Linked DNA regions of Homo sapiens: regions 2, 3, 4, 5, 6 and 7 are each linked to region 1. Evidence: promoter capture Hi-C in 16 types of primary human blood cells and fetal thymus (Javierre and others, 2016). All regions are on one chromosome and are shown on one strand. Each heading gives the region's core, a stretch centred on a gene start or on the middle of the fragment in contact. The rest is flanking DNA. Distances are from core to core; before and after follow the strand shown. Region 1 holds the start of EZH2 (enhancer of zeste 2 polycomb repressive complex 2 subunit). Region 2 has its middle 100 kb from the start of C7orf33. Region 3 has its middle 81 kb from the start of C7orf33. Region 4 has its middle 50 kb from the start of C7orf33. Region 5 overlaps LOC124901766 (a long non-coding RNA gene). Region 6 has its middle 17 kb from the start of C7orf33. Region 7 overlaps C7orf33 (chromosome 7 open reading frame 33).

Region 1 (2,561 bases), core at 21-2,520:
ATGATCCGCCCGCCTCGGCCTCCCAAAGTGCTGGGATTACAGGCGTGAGCCACCGCGCCTTGCAAATATCCTCACACTTTGCAGAGGCGGCAAGTGAACAGTGCTCATCTTGATAAAGGATTTTTAACACTGACACGTGCTTAGAACTACGAACAGTGGAAGGGTCTGAAATGGCAGCAATGTCGCCCTTTCACAGGTTTCTAGGGCGATAAGCACTGCAAGCTCGGCCAGCCAAAGTCCAGCGGTGGGGGAAAAAACGGCCAAGGCAGCAGCAGACATAATCAAACAGGGCCCGGGTCGGCGGCGGTGGCTCACGCCTGTAATCCCAGCACTTTGGGAGGCCGAGGCGGGCGGATCACCAGAAGTCGGGAGTTCGAGACCAGCCTGACCAAGACCCGTCTCTACTAAAAATAGAAAATTAGCCGGGCGTGGTGGCGCATGCCTGTAATCCAGCTACTCGGGAGGCTGAGGCATGAGAATCGCTTGAACCCGGAAGGCGGAGGTTGCGGTGAGTCGAGATCGCGCCATTGCACTCCAGCCTGGACAACCAGAGCGAAACTCCGTCTCAGGAGAAAAAAAAAAAAGTAGTAACGGGTCCGGCGGCAGCGCGCGGGCCGGGCGAGCGTCTCCCGGCAAACGCGGCGCCACAGCTGAGCCGACCTCCGGGGCCCGCGCCCTCCCCTCCCCGGGCACCACTAGGAGCGGCCAGCCCGGGCCTCGGCTCCGCGCGCGGGGAAACGAGCGCGGCGGTTAAAACCGTTACCACCCCCGAGTTTTGAACTGGTTCAAACTTGGCTTCCAGCACCCGCCCCGCCCCTCCCCCGCCCGGGAACTCTGCGGCGCCGGTTCCCGCCAAGAGCCGCCGGCGCTTCGTCCCGCCCTTCGGCCGGTTCCCGCCACCTATCCTCCCCGCCTCCCGTCCGCGGCGGGCTCCGGGCCCCCGCGATGTCTCCCGGTCCCCGCGTGCCTGCACACCGCCTTCCTGAGAGGCGCCGTGTGTTCAGCGAAAGAACAAAGAGACGGCGGCGGCGCTTCCACACGGCCAGTGGCGTCCCTTACAGCGAACCCCGCCGCCGCCCGCGCGCGCACGCGCTGCCAGTGCCCGCCCGCCCACGAGCCCTGAGCGCACTCTGCGTGGGGCTGGCTCGGCGCCTCCGAGCCCGGCGGGCCCTGTGATTGGACGGGCGCCCGCCTCGCGTCCCGCCAATCGGGGCGGCGCTTGATTGGGCTGGGGGGGCCAAATAAAAGCGATGGCGATTGGGCTGCCGCGTTTGGCGCTCGGTCCGGTCGCGTCCGACACCCGGTGGGACTCAGAAGGCAGTGGAGCCCCGGCGGCGGCGGCGGCGGCGCGCGGGGGCGACGCGCGGGAACAACGCGAGTCGGCGCGCGGGACGAAGGTAACGCGCCGCTGCGGGCGGCCCGGCCGGCGGGGCTCCGGGAGTGCGAACCGGGCGGCGGCGGCGGCGCCAGGACCTCCCCGCCACTGCTGTGCCGGTCCCGGGTATCGCCGAGCGGGGCTCACCGGGGCGCCGCGTTTGTAGGCGTGCGGGGGGTGGAGGGTGAGGGGAGAGCCCCCCTCCCCGGAAGGAGCTGTGAGCTTCGGGCTGGCCCGCGGGACCCTGCGAGTGAGGCAGCGCACACCCCTGGAGCTGCGGGGCGGGGGGCGTGTGGGGGGCTCCTTTCCCGGTGCTTGTCCTGGCCGGGGCGCCGGGGCCGGGGTCGGGGCGTTCCGGTGCCCGGTCCAGGGTGGCAGCTCGAGCCTCAAGTCTCCTTTGTGTGGCGCGGCCGCGGCGGGAGCGCCCGGGTGGGACGGGACAGACACAAGTTGGTGGGACCCAGCCGCCGAGTCCGCACTCAGACAAAGGACGGACTGTGTCTCCGGAGGGCTCGGCGCGAGGGGAAGGGGCATGACACCCGGGCCCGCCGGCGGGCGGGAGAGGGGCGTGGGGAGGCGCGGGCCGCTGCCGGGGTGGGCAGGGCTCGGCCCTCGCCTCGCGCACGCCCCCGGTCCCGGGCGCGCCGACCCCGGGCTGGGGCCGCGGCGCTCGCGGGACGACGTTCGCGGCGGGGAACTCGGAGTAGCTTCGCCTCTGACGTTTCCCCACGACGCACCCCGAAATCCCCCTGAGCTCCGGCGGTCGCGGGCTGCCCTCGCCGCCTGGTCTGGCTTTATGCTAAGTTTGAGGGAAGAGTCGAGCTGCTCTGCTCTCTATTGATTGTGTTTCTGGAGGGCGTCCTGTTGAATTCCCACTTCATTGTGTACATCCCCTTCCGTTCCCCCCAAAAATCTGTGCCACAGGGTTACTTTTTGAAAGCGGGAGGAATCGAGAAGCACGATCTTTTGGAAAACTTGGTGAACGCCTAGTGAGTTGCCACTTTCTAAAGAATCGTAATCCTTAAACATTACAAGCTGTTTTGGCCAACTTGTGTGATACATCTGAGAATGGCGACAGGTGCTAACGAAATCAACTGTCATTCAGCCAGATTATTCCCCAAATCCCGACGGGTTGAATGAGGATGAGGTGGTAGAAGTAGGTGATCAAAATAGAATGGCTATGACA
Region 2 (2,561 bases), core at 29-2,528, 400 kb after region 1:
GCCTGGACAACAGAGCCAGACTCCATCTCAAAAAACAACAACAACAAAAAAACAACAAAATTCCCCCTGAAGCAAAACAGAATTATTTAACCATGTATGCATGTATTTGCCCTTGACTGCAGTGTTGCTGAGTGTTTGAATCCTGTAGAAGAGAGGAACGTGGCCCTGTGTCCCACTTTATCCTGTGTCCAGGATGAAACCGACCCTGAAGGACATTTCCTCTTGTTTTTTCTCTTTATCCACACTGAGGGCCCAACAGCAAAAAGATGGATGCACTCACATTGCAGTGAGACCCACTGCTGATTTGGACACCTGCAGCTCTTTCTGGAGCTTAGTGAGATTCCTGGGGAGGGAGGAGGGTGCAGTTTGTGGTCCACCTTCTCTTTCACTGCTTCCGTCTTGGGGGAGCACTTTGAACTTCAGCTGTAGAAAGGGTTAATCCATTACTGGCTCTTTTCCAAAGCTCATGCGGAATGCTGTAGTGCATCAATAGGCCTGAAACACTCAAGTCTATGGTAAAAGAGAGGGAGCCAGAAGGGGCCTTAATGGAACAAGGCTGGATGTGGTTGAAAGGAAGCAAGTGTTCTGAGGAAGAGGCCTGATGGCTTCAGAAAGAGAAGTGTTTTCCCCTCTCGCCATAGGCATTGCCCTACGGCTCTCAGTAGAGTGGCTTAAACCAACCAATAGATATTACATCTATCCATATGATCATATATGATTCCAATGGTTTTATATATAGATGTAATCATATTGATATGATCATATATACATGATAATTCTATTTATGTGAATCTCAAATTTATATTTCTAGCCCTGTGTTCTTGATTTGTATAACCAACCACCTGCTTGCCTGCAGGCATCTCAAACATAATATGTCCACAATGGAACTCTTGGTTTGCAACTCCTCACCGTCTCCTGCAACTTGTTCTTCCTCCATCTCCAATCATTCAAGCCTAAAATCTTTGAGAGATCTTACATCTAGGGTATAATATAATTTAGTTAATACTTCACTTAATATTGGACTTTTAAGATGATACATATTCTTGGCTCTTATAAAATATACTTTAAATATCTTTGTGCATAAAGCTTTGTTTGCATTTCTGATTATGTCTTTTGAGTATTGAGAAAAATCAGTCTATTCCTGATTTGCTGAGCTCAGAGCAAAAGTAAAAATGTGTCTAGATATTTAAGTTATAAATCAAGCAAACAAATTGATAATTTATATAAGATATATTCTAGCCATCTACCTTGACAAATATACCTTCAAAATGGCCTGAAATACAAGGTTTGAATTTAGAATTTGTAGGTTCCTTGGAGTTCTGTAATGGAACATGCTGGCGTGGGGAGAACGGACCCCAGGCACTGACCCGGGGCCTGACCGCCTCCTCTTCCCACCCCCAGCTTTGTCTCTCACTGGGAGGGGGCTTGTGCGCATGCGTGTTGGCACCTCAGCCTGCACACTGAAGCTTCTAGGGCTGACCACACTTTCCCTTCCCATAAACCTTCACGCCTTGCTACCCTTTGGGTGATATGCTCAGGTCCTGGAAGCTGGCTTAGGACTGCTTGGGCAGGGAATTCCAGAGTTCCAGGAAGCTGGAGTGTGATCTAGGGGGATTGGTGAGGCATGGGCATGTTCCCTGATCTCTTCCTACTCCTTGCCTGGTGGGGAGATGACACCCGCGGCAGGGTGGGAAGGGAGGGGCTCTCCAAAGCGCAAGGCTAGGGAAAGGCCCCACTTCTGCAGCTTGAAAGTCAGTATGGTGGCCAGGCGCGGTGGCTCACCCCTGTAATGCCAGCACTTTGGGAGGCCGAGGTGGGCGGATCACAAGGTCAGGAGATTGAGACCATCCTGGCTAAGACGGTGAAATCCCGTCTCTACTAAAAATACAAAAAATTAGCTAGGCGTGGTGGCGGGTGCCTGTAGTCCCAGCTACTTGGGAGGCTGAGGCTGGAGAATGACGTGCACCCGGGAGGCGGAGCTTGCATTGAGCGGAGATGGCGCCACTGCACTCCAGCCTGGGCGACAGACTGAGACTCTGTCTCAAAAAAAAAAAAAAAAAAAAAAAAAAAAAGTCAGTATGGGCAGGAAGTCCTGGCTCTAAGCATATGATCAATTTCCGAGTTGCTTTCCAGAAAGATTAGACCAGTTTACCTGCCCATTTATTGAAGGGCTCCAGGTATCAAGAGAGTTTCCAGTGGTCTACTAGACACGTGACCTTGGGCAAGTTAAGCATCCTCTTCAGGACTCAGTTTCCCCATCTGTAAAACAACTTCTTTCTAGCTCTAACCTTCTCTGGCTCTCTGAAACCAAGCCCTGTGCTTTAGCCGTTCATGGCCTGAGTTTCTTAAACCTCCTTTAGTGTGTGGATGGGGGTCCCCCAGTGCTCTTATCCAAACACATATAGGTGCACACCATGGCTTGTCAGAATAACTTTCTACCAGACCAGGAGCTGGCACCCGGAACTACGCAGGTTTTCTTCCAGCTTCGGCAATCCATAACAATTTAAGAAAAACAGAGGCAGTTTGCTTGCAACAAGGGCAACTTTGCGTCCTCCTTTTAA
Region 3 (2,561 bases), core at 20-2,519, 370 kb after region 1:
AAACAAACAAACAAAAAACAAGAAAGACTTGCAAAATTTGAACACTGAGTCTGTATTTGATGATATGAAGTAATTATTACTACTTTTTTAGTTGTGATAATGGCATTTTGTTTTTTTAAACTCTTTATAATTCATAGATACATATTGAGATGTTTATAGATGAAATCATATGGTGTCTGAAATTTGCCTCAAAATAACACAAGATGGGGCAGATGTGAGTGACCACATCTCTGATGCAAATTTGACCATGATTTTCATCATTTTTGAAGCTGGGCCATGGTACCTGGGGTCCATTATATTATTATTTATATATGTTTGAAATTGTATAAAATAAAAACTAAATATGTTAATAAATAACAACATGCATTTACTTGTAGTGTAGTATATATTACATTACAGTTTGATTATTATGTATACAACCGCCTTCCCACTTTAAATCATTAGTCTCACCCCCTACTCCAACAAAACAGAAAGCAGAAAGCCTAAAAGTTAATGAGCTAAGCTTTTGCCTTAGGAAGTAGGAATCATAACAGTGAAATGAATTAAAAAATAATGAGGGAAGGAAAAAATGAAGATATAACAGCAGAAATTAAGGAAATAAACATGTAATACAGAGCAGCTTTGATATCATTAATAAAATTACCAAACCTCTTGGCTGGGCGCAGTGGCTCACTCCTGTAATCCCAGCACTTTGGGAGGCTGAGGCGGACGGATCACCTGAGGTCAGGTGTTCGAGACCAGCCTGGCCAACGTGGTGAAACTCTGTCTCTACTAAAAACACAAAAATTAGCCAGGTATGGTGGTGGGCGCCTGTAATCCCAGCTACTCGGGAGGCTGAGGCAGGAGAATCACTTGAACCCGGGAGGCGGAGGTTGCAGTGAGCCGAGATCATGCCACTGCACTCCAGCCTGGGTGACAGAGCGAGACTCTGTCTCAATAAATAAATAAATAACCAAACCTCAAACAAGGTTAATTGAAGAAAAATCAGAGAAGGCACAAATACACGATACCTGTACTAAAAAGGGAGGTGTAACTACAGTTGCAGCTGGTTACAAAGATAAGAGAATATCACAAACAACTTTTGCTAACATATTTGAAAACTCAGAGTAAATGGATATGGACCTAGAAAAATATGTGTCCAATGAATTTAAGATGAAGGAACTTGAATCGGTAAGTAGTTAATAATTTGCCTGCAAAAGAAACACCAAACCAAACAGAGGTGTCCTAACAAAACTTCAAAGAAATATTTTACTTGTAAAGAAACTCTCCTAAAAAATAGAAGGAAAACAATAACTCATTTTTCTGAGGATAATGTAATTTTAAAGCCAAAACTGCAAGGACAGCATGAAAGAGAAAAATCAGTCATTGATTTAGAACCCAATCCTAAATAAAATTTTAGTATACCTAATCTAGCAATGTAGCAATCATATACAGATACATGCATTCACAAATGTAAGCACAAACAAATTATTAAGCCCAATTATGCAAGATTGGTTGAATGTTAGGCAATATAAAAATTTTACTCATTATATCAAAATACTAAAAAAGAAATGATATATGATCATCTCAATATATAAAAAAGCATTTGAGAAAATTCAGCATCTATTTGGATTAGAAAACTCAACGCAGTAAAGATGTCAACTCTCAGCTGGGTGTGGTGGCTCACTCCTGTAATCCCAGCACTTTGGGAGGGTGAGACAGGTGGATCACAAGGTCAGGAGATCAAGACCAGCCTGGCCAACATGGTGAAACCCTGTCTCTACTAAAAATACAAAAATTAGCTGGGTGTGGTAGGGTGTACCTGTAATCCCAGCTGCTCAGGAGGCTGAGGCAGGAGAATCGCTTGAACCAGGGAGATGGACTTTGCAGTGAGCTGAGATTGCGCCACTGCACTCCAGCCTGGCGACAGAGTGAGACTCCATCTCAAAAAAAAAAAAAAAAAAAAAAAAAAAAGTGTCAATTCTCCCCAAACTGGTCTGTAAGTTTAATGCAGTTTCTGTCAGAATCCCAGATAGAATCTTTGTAGATAAGCTTATTCTATTATGGAAAGGCACAGGCCCTAAGCAATCTTGTGAAAGAAGAATAAAGTGGAAGGAAGGGACCACTCTACGCAACGTTAAGGCTTACTATATTACTATAGTAATCAAGACAATGTGGTATTGGCAGAGGGATAGATATGTATCAATGGACCAGAACAGATAACCCACAAAAAGACCCACAGAAATATGGCTAGTTGATTTTTGACAAAAATACAACAGCAGTTCCATGGAGGAAGGATAGTCTTTCAACAAATGGTGCTGGAGCCATTTGACATTCATGGTCAAAAAAAAAAAAAAAAAAAAAGAGTCTAATACCTTGGGTAAGTCTCACAGCTTATGCAAACATTAACTCAAAATGGATAAAAGACTTAATGTAAAATACAAAACTATAAAAATTTTGGAAAAAATTATAGCAGACAATTTTTGGGAACTAGATCTAGGCAAAGAATTCTTGGACTTGGCACCGAAAGCACAATCCATAAAAGGTTAAATTGATAAACTAGACCTCGTCAAAATTAAAAA
Region 4 (2,561 bases), core at 46-2,545, 340 kb after region 1:
TCAACTCTGATGCTCTTTTTCTTTATACTTTTCCCAGGAAAAGAAGTTTAAATCAATAACTGAAATAAGTTTTCATGGTACCCAGAGATTTCACTTCCTGATAGCCTGCCTCATGTGAATTAACGTGTACAATGGAAGGTAGTTCTAGTGGAGATAATGAATTCCTCTCCAGAAAGGGAGCTTTCCCTCTTTTGGGGTACTGAGGGCACTCACGGAAAATAAAGGACCAGGGTTTTTTCTTCACCTCTAGAATTTTAATTATTTTAATTTAATTTATTTATTTATTTTGAGACAGAGTTTTGCTCTTGTCACCCAGGCTGGAGTGCAATGGCGCGATCTCACCTCACTGCGACCTCTGCCTCCCAGATTCAAGTGATTCTCCTGCCTTAGCCTCCCCCAGTAGCTGGGATAACAGGCGTGTGCCACCACACCCAGCTAATTTTTGTATTTTTAGTAGAGACAGGGTTTCACCATGTTGGCTAGGCTGTCCTTGAACTGCTGACCTCAGGTGATCCACCTACCTCGGCCTTGCAAGGTGCTGGGATTATAGGTGCGAGCCACCATGCCCGGCCACGGTAAATTTAAAAATTCAGTAGAATTTTAAAATAGTTGGACCAGAGAGGAAGCATGTTTTCAAACATGCCAAGGGAATCCATTTTGGATTTTTAATTTGGGGAATTTTCTCAGATCTGGAAAAGTTATTGTAAATCAAGGTTGAAGTAAAGTTGGTTTACATATTTTACGTATTTGCCTTTTGGAAAACACAATTTAGGACTTTAGGTCCATGTCTTTGTTTTCATACTGACAAAGAGGCTGTTTCTGAGACCTCAGTCCCCCACACATTGCAGGGGTATTGCTGGGCTCTCTTTCTCTGCGTTGTGAAAGGCCTCTTCAGGGAGCATGGAGAGCTGTGTTCTGCCTCCCTGCGCATTAGATGAGCGCCTAGAGGGTGCTGGCAGTGAGCTGCTGCGGAGCCTGACATGGGTTGCCTTTCTCCAGGCACAGCAGGCAGACTCCAAGCTATTTCTTACCCTGGCTGGGCCTTGAAAAAGCCCAGCCAGCCGCTGAAAAACTGAGCTGAGACATCGCTAGAGAGGCTGTGCGTGAGCAGCCAAAGGCTATTTGCTGAGCAGAAGCTTCTGGACGCTGACCAGCTGGACGTTGACCACACAGAACAGGAGTGGTCATTAGGCTCCTCAGCCTCCCTGGACCAATCAGCTCTGATGACAAGCGGGCAGGAGGCAGCTTGTGGGAACTGAGAACTGCTGAGATGATGCTGAGAACTGCTGAAGAAGAAGGGACAATAGAAACCCTTGCCCATGATTGTGTCTCCAGAGAGCATCCCAGACGCTGTCTGGAGCCCCAGAATTCTAGGTTTGGTTACCAGCACCATGGATGCAGTGGTCACAGGACTTCTATTCATCTGTATTGCCCCAGTAGGAAAACTAAGCTTGGCCCTGGCTGCACCCTGCAACCTCAGCACTCAGGAATCTGCTGCTCTGAGCTGAGTCACCAGACTTGGTACTCGAGACGTGAATCCTTTTGGGACAGGATTCCTAAATAGGGATCTTCTTTTAGGAGTTCCAGAACAGTTATTTGTAACACATAGAATGGACAAAAGATTAGAATCCAGAATACGTAAAAAAGATTCTTACCAATCTTTAAGAAAAAAATTTTTTTAAATAAATGAAAAAATCAATCACTAAAAAAAAGACATTTAAAAATAGGCAAAAGACATGAATGAACATTTCACAGAAGAAAAAACATAAATGGCCAATAAGTTTATGAAAAAATGTTCCACCTCATTAGCAAGTGGGAAAATATAAATTTTAAAGCCACTGGCCTGGTGAGATGACTCACGCCTCTGATCCCAGCGCTTTGGGAGGCCGAGGTGGGAGGATCGCTTGAGGCCCGGAAATGAAGGTTGCAGTGAGCTATGGACACACCACTGCACTCCAGCCTGGGTGGCAGAGCAAGACCCTGTCTCAAACAATAAAATAAAACCCACTAAGGGATATCAATTTACACTCAATTGGCAAAAAATAAAGTAAAATAATATAAAGTGTTGCTGAGGCTGTGAAGCAGAGGCCTCTCCCACAATGCTGTTAGGAGCATGAATAGGCACAACTGCATCAGAAGACAATTTTGCATCAATTAACAAAGTTGAATCTTCTAGCACCTCTGCAATTACACTGAGGAACATATTACAAGGACTATAATTGGCAGGAGTATGTATAGTATCCTTAGTTATAAGAGTAAAAATATAAAACAATGCAATATGTTCATTAACAGTGGTGGATAGGTACATTTTGGCGTATTCATACGGCAGAATACTATGCGCAGTGAAAATGGAGAAAGTATAGTTCCAAGAATCAATACTGGTGAATCTTAAAAACAAAAACAAAAAAACAAGTCATAGAAGAATGCATCCAGTGTGGTTCAATTTACATAAAGGCGAACAACAGACAAAAGTCAATAATGTATTGCTTAGAGATACGGGGTAGAATTGAAAGAAAAGTAAAAGATTAAATAACATGAAAATCAAGATAGTGGCTACCTAT
Region 5 (2,561 bases), core at 47-2,546, 330 kb after region 1:
AAAACCCAAAACCCACAACATTTTTTTTATTAAATACGATTTTATTATTTATAAATTGAAAAAAATATTGAACCTAACACCTAACATCCCAGACCACATCACTATGAAAGTCACAGGAAATGGAGGTAATGGAGGAGGGCCAGGGAAGGTAGAATAAAAGTGAACTGATTCTCTTCTTGCCTGGAGGTTGGAAGTAGAGTAAGATAGAAATTAATTGACTGTAGGTTTTGTTATAAAATATTAAATTTAAGGATAACCTGAGAAAAATAGTAAAATAATGTAAACTTATCAATTAATAGTGAAAAAAAAGAACAAAGGAAAGCTAATTAAAAGCAGGAAAGAAGAGAATAAAAAAAGAAAGCACTCCCCACCTTTTTTTCCCAACATGGTGGATTGGAAGCTTTCAGCATGCCTCAGCCACTTGGAAATAGCAAGATGGTGCACAAAGATCAACTCTGTGAGTTTAATTCAAGAAGAAAAATGGAAATCCACCAGAATCATGAAGGACGCCCCAGATCCTGTGGAGGAGAATACTGGTAAACAGCCTCCATGATGGCATCCCACTGATTAAAGTTAGTGAAGCCCCCATGTGTGAGAGAGGCAGAGAACCTCCCTCTATGACTCACCTTTCCACCGGGGATCTCAGCAATCCAGGCTGAGGGAGAGCACTTTCATTCTTCCAAGCCCTGGAGCTAATGTGGGGACAGTGTTGTAGATGCTGAGGACAGACACCAGACAAAGCTATAGACATTTTTCCAGACCCAGGATCAAGAGCAGGACACCATTTTTAATCTGGAGGCATACAAAGTCAGCCATTATTTGGCGACCTAACAGCATAGTCATGCAGGAATTTTAGTCTTGGGCCGGAGATTGGAGCACCTCCTCTAGAGCAGGGTAGGAACCTCTACAGTCAGAACTGTGGAAAGCTCCTCAGCAGTAGGTTCTGGGATTGTGCTCTCTTCCAACACAAGTCTCCGGTGGGAGGAGAGCTTCTACAGCTGTAGTTTCTCCTGGGCAGTGAGACTTGTAGCTAGGGCCAGGTTGGTGACCACCTTGGTGGTCTGTGTGTGCCATTACTGTGTGCCCCAACTGCTCCTTTGAGATCATGGTGCAGTGGGGCCCTCTTTGCTTCACCCCTAGGCAGAAATCCAGGCACTCGGAGCACTTGCTTGTCTGGATCAGCCTGAGCCATATCCTTCATGGGCAGAAACCCTGGTACAAGGGGGCCCTCTCTGTTCCACACCCAGGCAGATCTCCAGGCATCTGGAGCACCTACTCTCCTGGATTAGGAATTTAGGCTGCCTCCATCTCTGTGCAGAGAACTTGGGGTCAAGGAAGTTTCCCAACTCCCTGCCTAGGCAAGCCTTTGGGCACTTGGCAACAGCTTACTGGATTCTCAGTTAGCACTGGTGCTTGTGCCTGCCATCAGGGACCGTAGGTGGACCTGCCTGGTCTGGCTTCACCAGTGTTGGCTCCCTACCCCCGCCCATGAAGGGGCTGAGCAGGGAGTCAGACCATTGTGCACTCCACAAATCAGCGCATTACCTGAGGCAACAGAGAAACTTCTCCCAGTAAACAAGGATCAAGTATATACCCAGTCATGTTGGCAGCAGCAGGCTCTTACCTATAAGTGCCATCTACAGCTTGTAGGTCAAACTGCATAGTCCAATATAAAACCTGCTGACAGAAGTGCATAGGGCTGTAGAAGCAAAGCCAAATGACCTCACCAAGCATTCTCTATAGTCACACCCACTAAAGAGTGGAGGGTGGGGGAGAAAGAAAGAAAAGAGTAGTAACAACAAAAAAATAACATTATGGGGGAAAAAAGAAAAAAAATCCTACCTTCATGAAAATAATTACAAAAATTAGAAGTGCCAGCATCTCTAGATAAGGAATCAATATAAAAATTCTGGCACCATCAAAAATCCGAATGTGGTGACACCACCAAAGGATCACACTAGCTTTCCAGCGATGGTCCCTAACTAAAATGGAAATGAAGAAATAGCTAATAAATTCAAAGCATGAATTACGAGGAAGCTCAATGAGATCCAAGACAAGGTTAATAATCAATATGAAGAAACTTCTAAAGCAATCCAGTAAATGATGGAAGAGGTAAACATCCTAAAAAGAAATCAGAGCTTCTGGAATTGAAAAACTCACTTAAGGAATTTCAAAATACAGTGGAAAGCTTTGTCAATAGACTGGACTGAGCAGAAGAATTTGAGAACTTGAAGACCGGTCTTTCAAATTAATTCAGTCAGACAAAAATAAAGAAAAAAGAATTTAAAAAAATGAACAATGTTCAAGAAATATGGGATTTTGTAAAGCAACCAAACATACAAATTATTGGCCTTCCTGAGAGAGAAGAAAAAGCAAACAACCTGGAAAACACATTTGAGGGAATAATTAAAGAAAAATTTTCTCATTTTGTTAGAGAGCTTGATATCCAGATACCAGAAATTCAGAGAAAACCTGCGAGGTACTATACAAAATGAACATCACCAAGGCATACTTGGTCACCCGACTGTCCAAAGACAATACTAAAGAAAAAAATCTTAAAG
Region 6 (2,561 bases), core at 17-2,516, 310 kb after region 1:
AATAGAGATGGGGTTTCACCATATTGGCCAGGCTCGTCTCAAACTCCTGACTTCAAGTGATCTGCCTGCCTTGGCCTCCCGAAGTGCTGGGATTATAGGTGTGAGCCACCGCGCCCAGCCCACTTTTACATGAATTCTTGTCTGGACACTTTCAATAGGGAATACAATATGGTTTCCACCATACCTAAAGCTGTCGATGCCAACTGGCCAGGTCATTTGGTCTCCTCCTGGCAGTGGACAGCAGGCAATGAGGGAGCCAGTATGCTGACAGGTGACAGGTTGTCATGAGAAGGCAGGCTTACTGCTACACAACGGGGGTAGATAACTTAAGCTAAGACATTTTCTTAGGTGTTTGAAGTGAGAGAACCAGATGTGTTAATTTTGTAATCAGAGTTTAAGTGTCTAAGGGAATTTAATTTTCTAAGTCATGTTAAACATTTAAAGATGATTTGGTCAGGTAAGAGTTCATCGAAATATTAATAAAGGGACAAAAAGAAGTGGCTGTTCTTTTTCATAAAAAATTAGTTAGGTTTATAAATAAAATAGCCAGATTTAAAAATAGAGCTTCAAGTTTTAAAATAAATTAGGTTTCTAATTCATAGCTAATACAGTTGACTTGAAGAAAATAAATATCTTTAGAAATTGCTTTTCAGGTTGGAGAGTCCTTTTTAAACAGCAGAAGCTCATTATATTTCAAAAAAATAAATATTGAATGAATAAATTCCAGGCTTAACTTTATGCTTATAAGTTTCTGTAGTTATATTCTTCATTGTAAGTGTGAATTATCAAAAATATCCAGCAAGGTATATAAAGTACTCAAGTCAATATCAAAATGTCAAGCCTGAACTAAAAATTAGAAGCACTCAAACCAAAATTGACAAATGGGATCTAATTAAACTAAAGAGCTTCTGCACAGCCAAAGAAACTATCATTAGAGTGAATAGGCAACCTACAGAATGGGAGAAAATGTTTGCAATCTACCCATCTGACAAAGGTCTAATATCCAGAATTTACTAGGAGCTTAAACATATTTACAAGAAAAAACGAACAACCCCATCAAAAAGTGGGCAAAGAATATGAACAGACACTTCTCAAAAGAAGACATTTCTGCAGTCAACAAACATATGAAAAAAAGCTCAACATCACTGATCATCAGAGAAATGCAAATCAAAACCACAATGAGATACCATCTCATGCCAGTCAGAATGGCGATTATTAAAAAGTCAGGAAACAACAGATGCTGGAGAGGATGTGGAGAAATAGGAACTCTTTTACACTGTTGGTGGGAATGTAAATTAGTTCAACCATTGTGGAAGACAGTATGGTGGTTCCTCAAGGATGTAGAACCAGAAATACCATTTGACCCAGCAATCCCATTACTGGGTATATACCCAAAGGAATATAAATCATTCTACTATAAAGACACATGCACACATATGTTTCTTGCAGCACTATTTACAATAGCAAAGACATGGAACCATATGGCACATATACACCATGGAATACTATGCAGCCATGAAAAGGAATGAGATCATGTCCTTTGCAGGTACATGGATGAAGCTGGAAGCCATCAACCTCAGCAAACTAACACAGGAACAGAAAACCAAACACCTCATGTTCTCACTCATAAGTGGGAGTTGAACATTGAGAACATATGGGCACAGAGAGGGGAACAACTTACACTAGGGCCTGTTGGGGGTGGGGGGTGATGGGAAGGAACTTAGAGGACAGGTCAATAGGTGCAGCAAACCACCATGGCACACGTATGCCTATGTAACAAACCTGCACCTTCTGCACATGTATCCCATTTTTTTTTAGAAGACATAAAGAAAAAAAAATTAGAAGCACTCATAAATTATCCCAGGTACTCATTTACCAAACTAGGCAACTAATTACAGTTATGCTCATCAATGCATATAAAATAAGTAGTTCAACATTAAAATGAATCTATAAAAAGGTGCATCAATAATCATAAATGCAAGATATCATTACATCGCATTCTGGTAATCATCTGAGATAACTACAATTTTAAAATCTGGAATTTCACCTTGAAAGGTGAGATAAATACAGTTGAATATATTTTCAGGTGTGTCTGTTCCTAAGTGCAATTTTCAGTTTTACTGAAGAAAATGAAGGCAGAATTCAGAAAATGAAATACAGCAGTATTCATTTTATTACGAAAACAGGTAGTGAAAATTTTATTGGCATTTTCCTAACTGTATAAAACTTAGTAAAACACTTCATGCTTTAAGAAACATTTCTGTTCTTGATAAAAATTTAGGGCTTGAATGCTTATCTTTGGTAAATTACTTTTACCTTCTGATTATGATAACAGATCTCTCACAGCTTAAAGCAGAATTCCTCTCTATTTACTTAGGTCTTTGATTTTACAACAAAGTGAGGGCTGAATATAAATATTCTTACACGTCCCCCTTTCTCTGGGGAAGCAAAGGAGAATGAATTATAGGGGAGAAATGTGGAAGTATAAATATAACTCTGTCTAAATTATTTGGCAGTTATGTTAGTCTGTATTTTAAAAACCTAAAAAAAGTAAACATTCA
Region 7 (2,561 bases), core at 17-2,516, 290 kb after region 1:
AATATAGATCTATAGTATATATAATATATAATAGCATATATATAGCTATATAATATATATCTATATTATATAGATATATCTATATAATATAGATCTATATTATCTATGATATATCTATATAATAGAGATCTATATTATATTTGATATATCTATATAATATAGATCTATATTATATAGATATATCTATATTATATATTATATATCTATATAATATATATCTATATAATATAGATATCTCTATATTATACATGATATATATCTATATAATATATATCCATATAATATAGATATTATATAATATACTCAGGAGGCTGAAGCAGGAGGATCGATCACTTGAACCCAGGAGGTCAAGGCTGCAGTGAGCCGTGAATGTGCCACTGCACTCCAGCCTGTCTCAAAAAATACAAAACAAACAAAAGAAAACCTGACCTGGTGAATATTCAGAAACTATTAAGTGAAAAGCTGGTGCTCATTGTTAGGTGGTCAGGACTTTCTGCTTCTTAAGAGTCCCTAATGATTCCCAGGGCCAAGCATGTTCAGATGGGGACACTGTCTTGTGGCTCACTGTTGTCTCATGTAAGCAGGAGCGGCTGGGAGTGCAGGCTGCAGGCTGTACTTGCTGTTAGGTTCCTGAACCATAACATTAACATAGACATTGTCCTTCTTTTGAATAGAAGACAAATGATCCACAGTGGTACCATGCCAAACCTCACTCTGTAAGGATATATTGGACTGAAATATATTGAATATATTCCCAAATTCAAATATATTGAATTTCATCATATTTTCCCTAAACCATTTGGTTTCACATTTCCCTAAACAATTTGGTTGGATTATATCTCCCTACAAACTGTCACCCTCCTTCTGCCAAGCAAATGAAATGATAACTGTTCTGCATTTTACTTGGGTGTCATCTTAGTACCCTTACTGGTAAGTTGGTATCATCTTTCCTCTTACTTCTTGTATTAGGCTGTTTTTGCATTGCTGTAAAATACCTAAGGCTGGGTAATTTATAAAGAAAAGAGGTTGGTCGGGCGCGGTGGTTCACGCCTGTAATCCCAGCACTTTGGGAGGCCGAGGCGGGCAGATCACAATGTCAGGAGATCGAGACCATCCTGGCTAACATGGTGAAACCCCGTCTCTACTAAAAAATACAAAAAATTAGCCTGGCATGGAGGCGGATGCCTGTAGTCCCAGCTACTCGAGAGGCTGAGGCAGGAGAATGGCACGAACCCGGGAGGCGGAGCTTGCAGTGAGCCAAGATCGTACCACTGCACTCCAGCCTGGGCGACAGAGCGAAGACTCTGTCTCAGAAAAAAAAAAAAAAAAAAAGAAAAGAGGTTTAATTGGCTCATGGTTCTGCAGGCTGTACAGGAAACATGGCGTCTGCTCGGCTTCTGGGGAGGCCTCAAGGAGCTTTCACTCATGACGGAAGGCAAAGTAGAAGCAGGCACATCGAACAGCAAAAGTGAGAGCAAGAAAGCAAGAGAAGGTGCCACACACTTAAACAACCCGATCTTGTGAGAACTCACTCACTATCGCAAGGACAGCACCAAGAGGATGGCGCTAAACTATTCATGACAAATCCACCCCCATGATCCAATCACCTCTCATTAGGCCCCACCTCCAACACTAGGGATCACATTCCAGCATGACACTTAGCCGGGCAAATATTCAACCATGTCACTTCTTTTCCAGCAGGCATCTCTCTGGGCTCTGACCCTTTCCTGTCAATCCCAGTTGGGAGTCTCCGTTTCTACAATCCCCTCCAAACAGGCTGTATCCCCCGACCCTGGCTTCATGCTCAGCCTTTCCTAAATGCATTAAACACCCAGTCAGAGGAAAAGCATTTTGACTTCAAATTAACATTTAAAATAAAAACTAACTTTAAAACATGTTATTATGAAGGCAATAGAGATTCTCTATTTAAAGAAATTCAGGCCAGTTGCAGTGGCTCACACCTGTAATCCCAGCACTTTGGGAGGCTGAGGCAAGCAGATGATTTGAGGTCAGGAGTTCGAGACCAGCCTGGCCAACATGGTGAAACCTCGACTCTACTAAAAATACAAAAAAATTAGCTGGGAGTGGTGGCAGGTGCCTGTAATTCCCGCTACTTGGGAGGCTAAGGCAGGAGAATTACTTGAATCCAGGAGGCGGATGTTGCAGTGAGCCAAGATTGAGCCATTGCACTCCAGCCTGGGTAACAAGAGCAAGACTCCATCTCAAAATGAATAACAAAAATAAAGAAATTCAGAACATTCTGAGCTTTGGAAAAATAATACGTAACTCATAGTGCCATCCATAGACAACCACTTTGAGACTTTGCTGTATCTTCCAGTGATCTAATTAGATTTAAATCGTGTCGGCCAGGCATGTTGGCTCATGCCTGTAATCCCAGGACTTTGGGAGGTGAGGTGGGTGGATCACTTGAGGTCAGCAGTTTAAGACCAGCCTGGTGAACATGATGAAACCCTGTATCTACTAAAAATACAAAAATTAGTAGGATGTGGTGGTGGGTGCCTGTAATCCCAGCTACTGGGGAGGGTGAGGCAGGAGAATCA

What was found. Contacts are between HindIII fragments. The CHiCAGO score rates a contact against its expected background, and 5 or more counts as called.
Region 2: a contact is called between a fragment that was not itself captured here and the fragment with the promoter of EZH2 in region 1, in 2 of 17 cell types (monocytes and M0 macrophages). The highest score is 5.5, in monocytes.
Region 3: a contact is called between a fragment that was not itself captured here and the fragment with the promoter of EZH2 in region 1, in 10 of 17 cell types (activated CD4 T cells, naive CD4 T cells, monocytes and 7 more). The highest score is 10.0, in activated CD4 T cells.
Region 4: a fragment that was not itself captured here is called in contact with the fragment with the promoter of EZH2 in region 1 in 3 of 17 cell types (activated CD4 T cells, naive CD4 T cells and naive CD8 T cells); the score reaches 7.9 in activated CD4 T cells.
Region 5: a fragment that was not itself captured here is called in contact with the fragment with the promoter of EZH2 in region 1 in 4 of 17 cell types (activated CD4 T cells, non-activated CD4 T cells, naive CD4 T cells and 1 more); the score reaches 7.6 in activated CD4 T cells.
Region 6: a fragment that was not itself captured here is called in contact with the fragment with the promoter of EZH2 in region 1 in 6 of 17 cell types (activated CD4 T cells, naive CD8 T cells, monocytes and 3 more); the score reaches 10.5 in activated CD4 T cells.
Region 7: a fragment that was not itself captured here is called in contact with the fragment with the promoter of EZH2 in region 1 in 1 of 17 cell types (activated CD4 T cells); the score reaches 6.4 in activated CD4 T cells.

What each region holds. Positions count from the first base shown.
Region 1 is chr7:148,883,000-148,885,560 of GRCh38, reverse strand. EZH2 (enhancer of zeste 2 polycomb repressive complex 2 subunit) reads left to right here and starts at 1,270. Exons shown (of 20, transcript NM_004456.5): 1 at 1,270-1,397. It overlaps LOC124901767 (a long non-coding RNA gene), which reads right to left and starts at 372. Exons shown (of 2, transcript XR_007060579.1): 1 at 78-372. RefSeq lists silencers at 637-866, 987-1,356, 1,517-2,106 and an enhancer at 1,325-2,016. The HindIII fragment of the contact is 14,290 bases long and covers 1-2,561 here.
Region 2 is chr7:148,486,010-148,488,570 of GRCh38, reverse strand. No RefSeq gene overlaps it. Among named protein-coding and RNA genes, the nearest start is that of C7orf33, 100 kb to the left of the region's middle. The HindIII fragment of the contact is 380 bases long and covers 1,089-1,468 here.
Region 3 is chr7:148,508,949-148,511,509 of GRCh38, reverse strand. No RefSeq gene overlaps it. Among named protein-coding and RNA genes, the nearest start is that of C7orf33, 81 kb to the left of the region's middle. The HindIII fragment of the contact is 1,529 bases long and covers 505-2,033 here.
Region 4 is chr7:148,539,122-148,541,682 of GRCh38, reverse strand. No RefSeq gene overlaps it. Among named protein-coding and RNA genes, the nearest start is that of C7orf33, 50 kb to the left of the region's middle. RefSeq lists a silencer at 1,359-1,559. The HindIII fragment of the contact is 314 bases long and covers 1,139-1,452 here.
Region 5 is chr7:148,556,116-148,558,676 of GRCh38, reverse strand. All of the region lies in intron 2 of LOC124901766 (a long non-coding RNA gene), which reads left to right. Among named protein-coding and RNA genes, the nearest start is that of C7orf33, 33 kb to the left of the region's middle. The HindIII fragment of the contact is 1,788 bases long and covers 403-2,190 here.
Region 6 is chr7:148,572,735-148,575,295 of GRCh38, reverse strand. No RefSeq gene overlaps it. Among named protein-coding and RNA genes, the nearest start is that of C7orf33, 17 kb to the left of the region's middle. RefSeq lists an enhancer at 2,486-2,561. The HindIII fragment of the contact is 3,907 bases long and covers 1-2,561 here.
Region 7 is chr7:148,592,943-148,595,503 of GRCh38, reverse strand. All of the region lies in intron 1 of C7orf33 (chromosome 7 open reading frame 33), which reads right to left. Among named protein-coding and RNA genes, the nearest start is that of C7orf33, 3.5 kb to the right of the region's middle. RefSeq lists a silencer at 1,381-1,581. The HindIII fragment of the contact is 5,446 bases long and covers 1-2,561 here.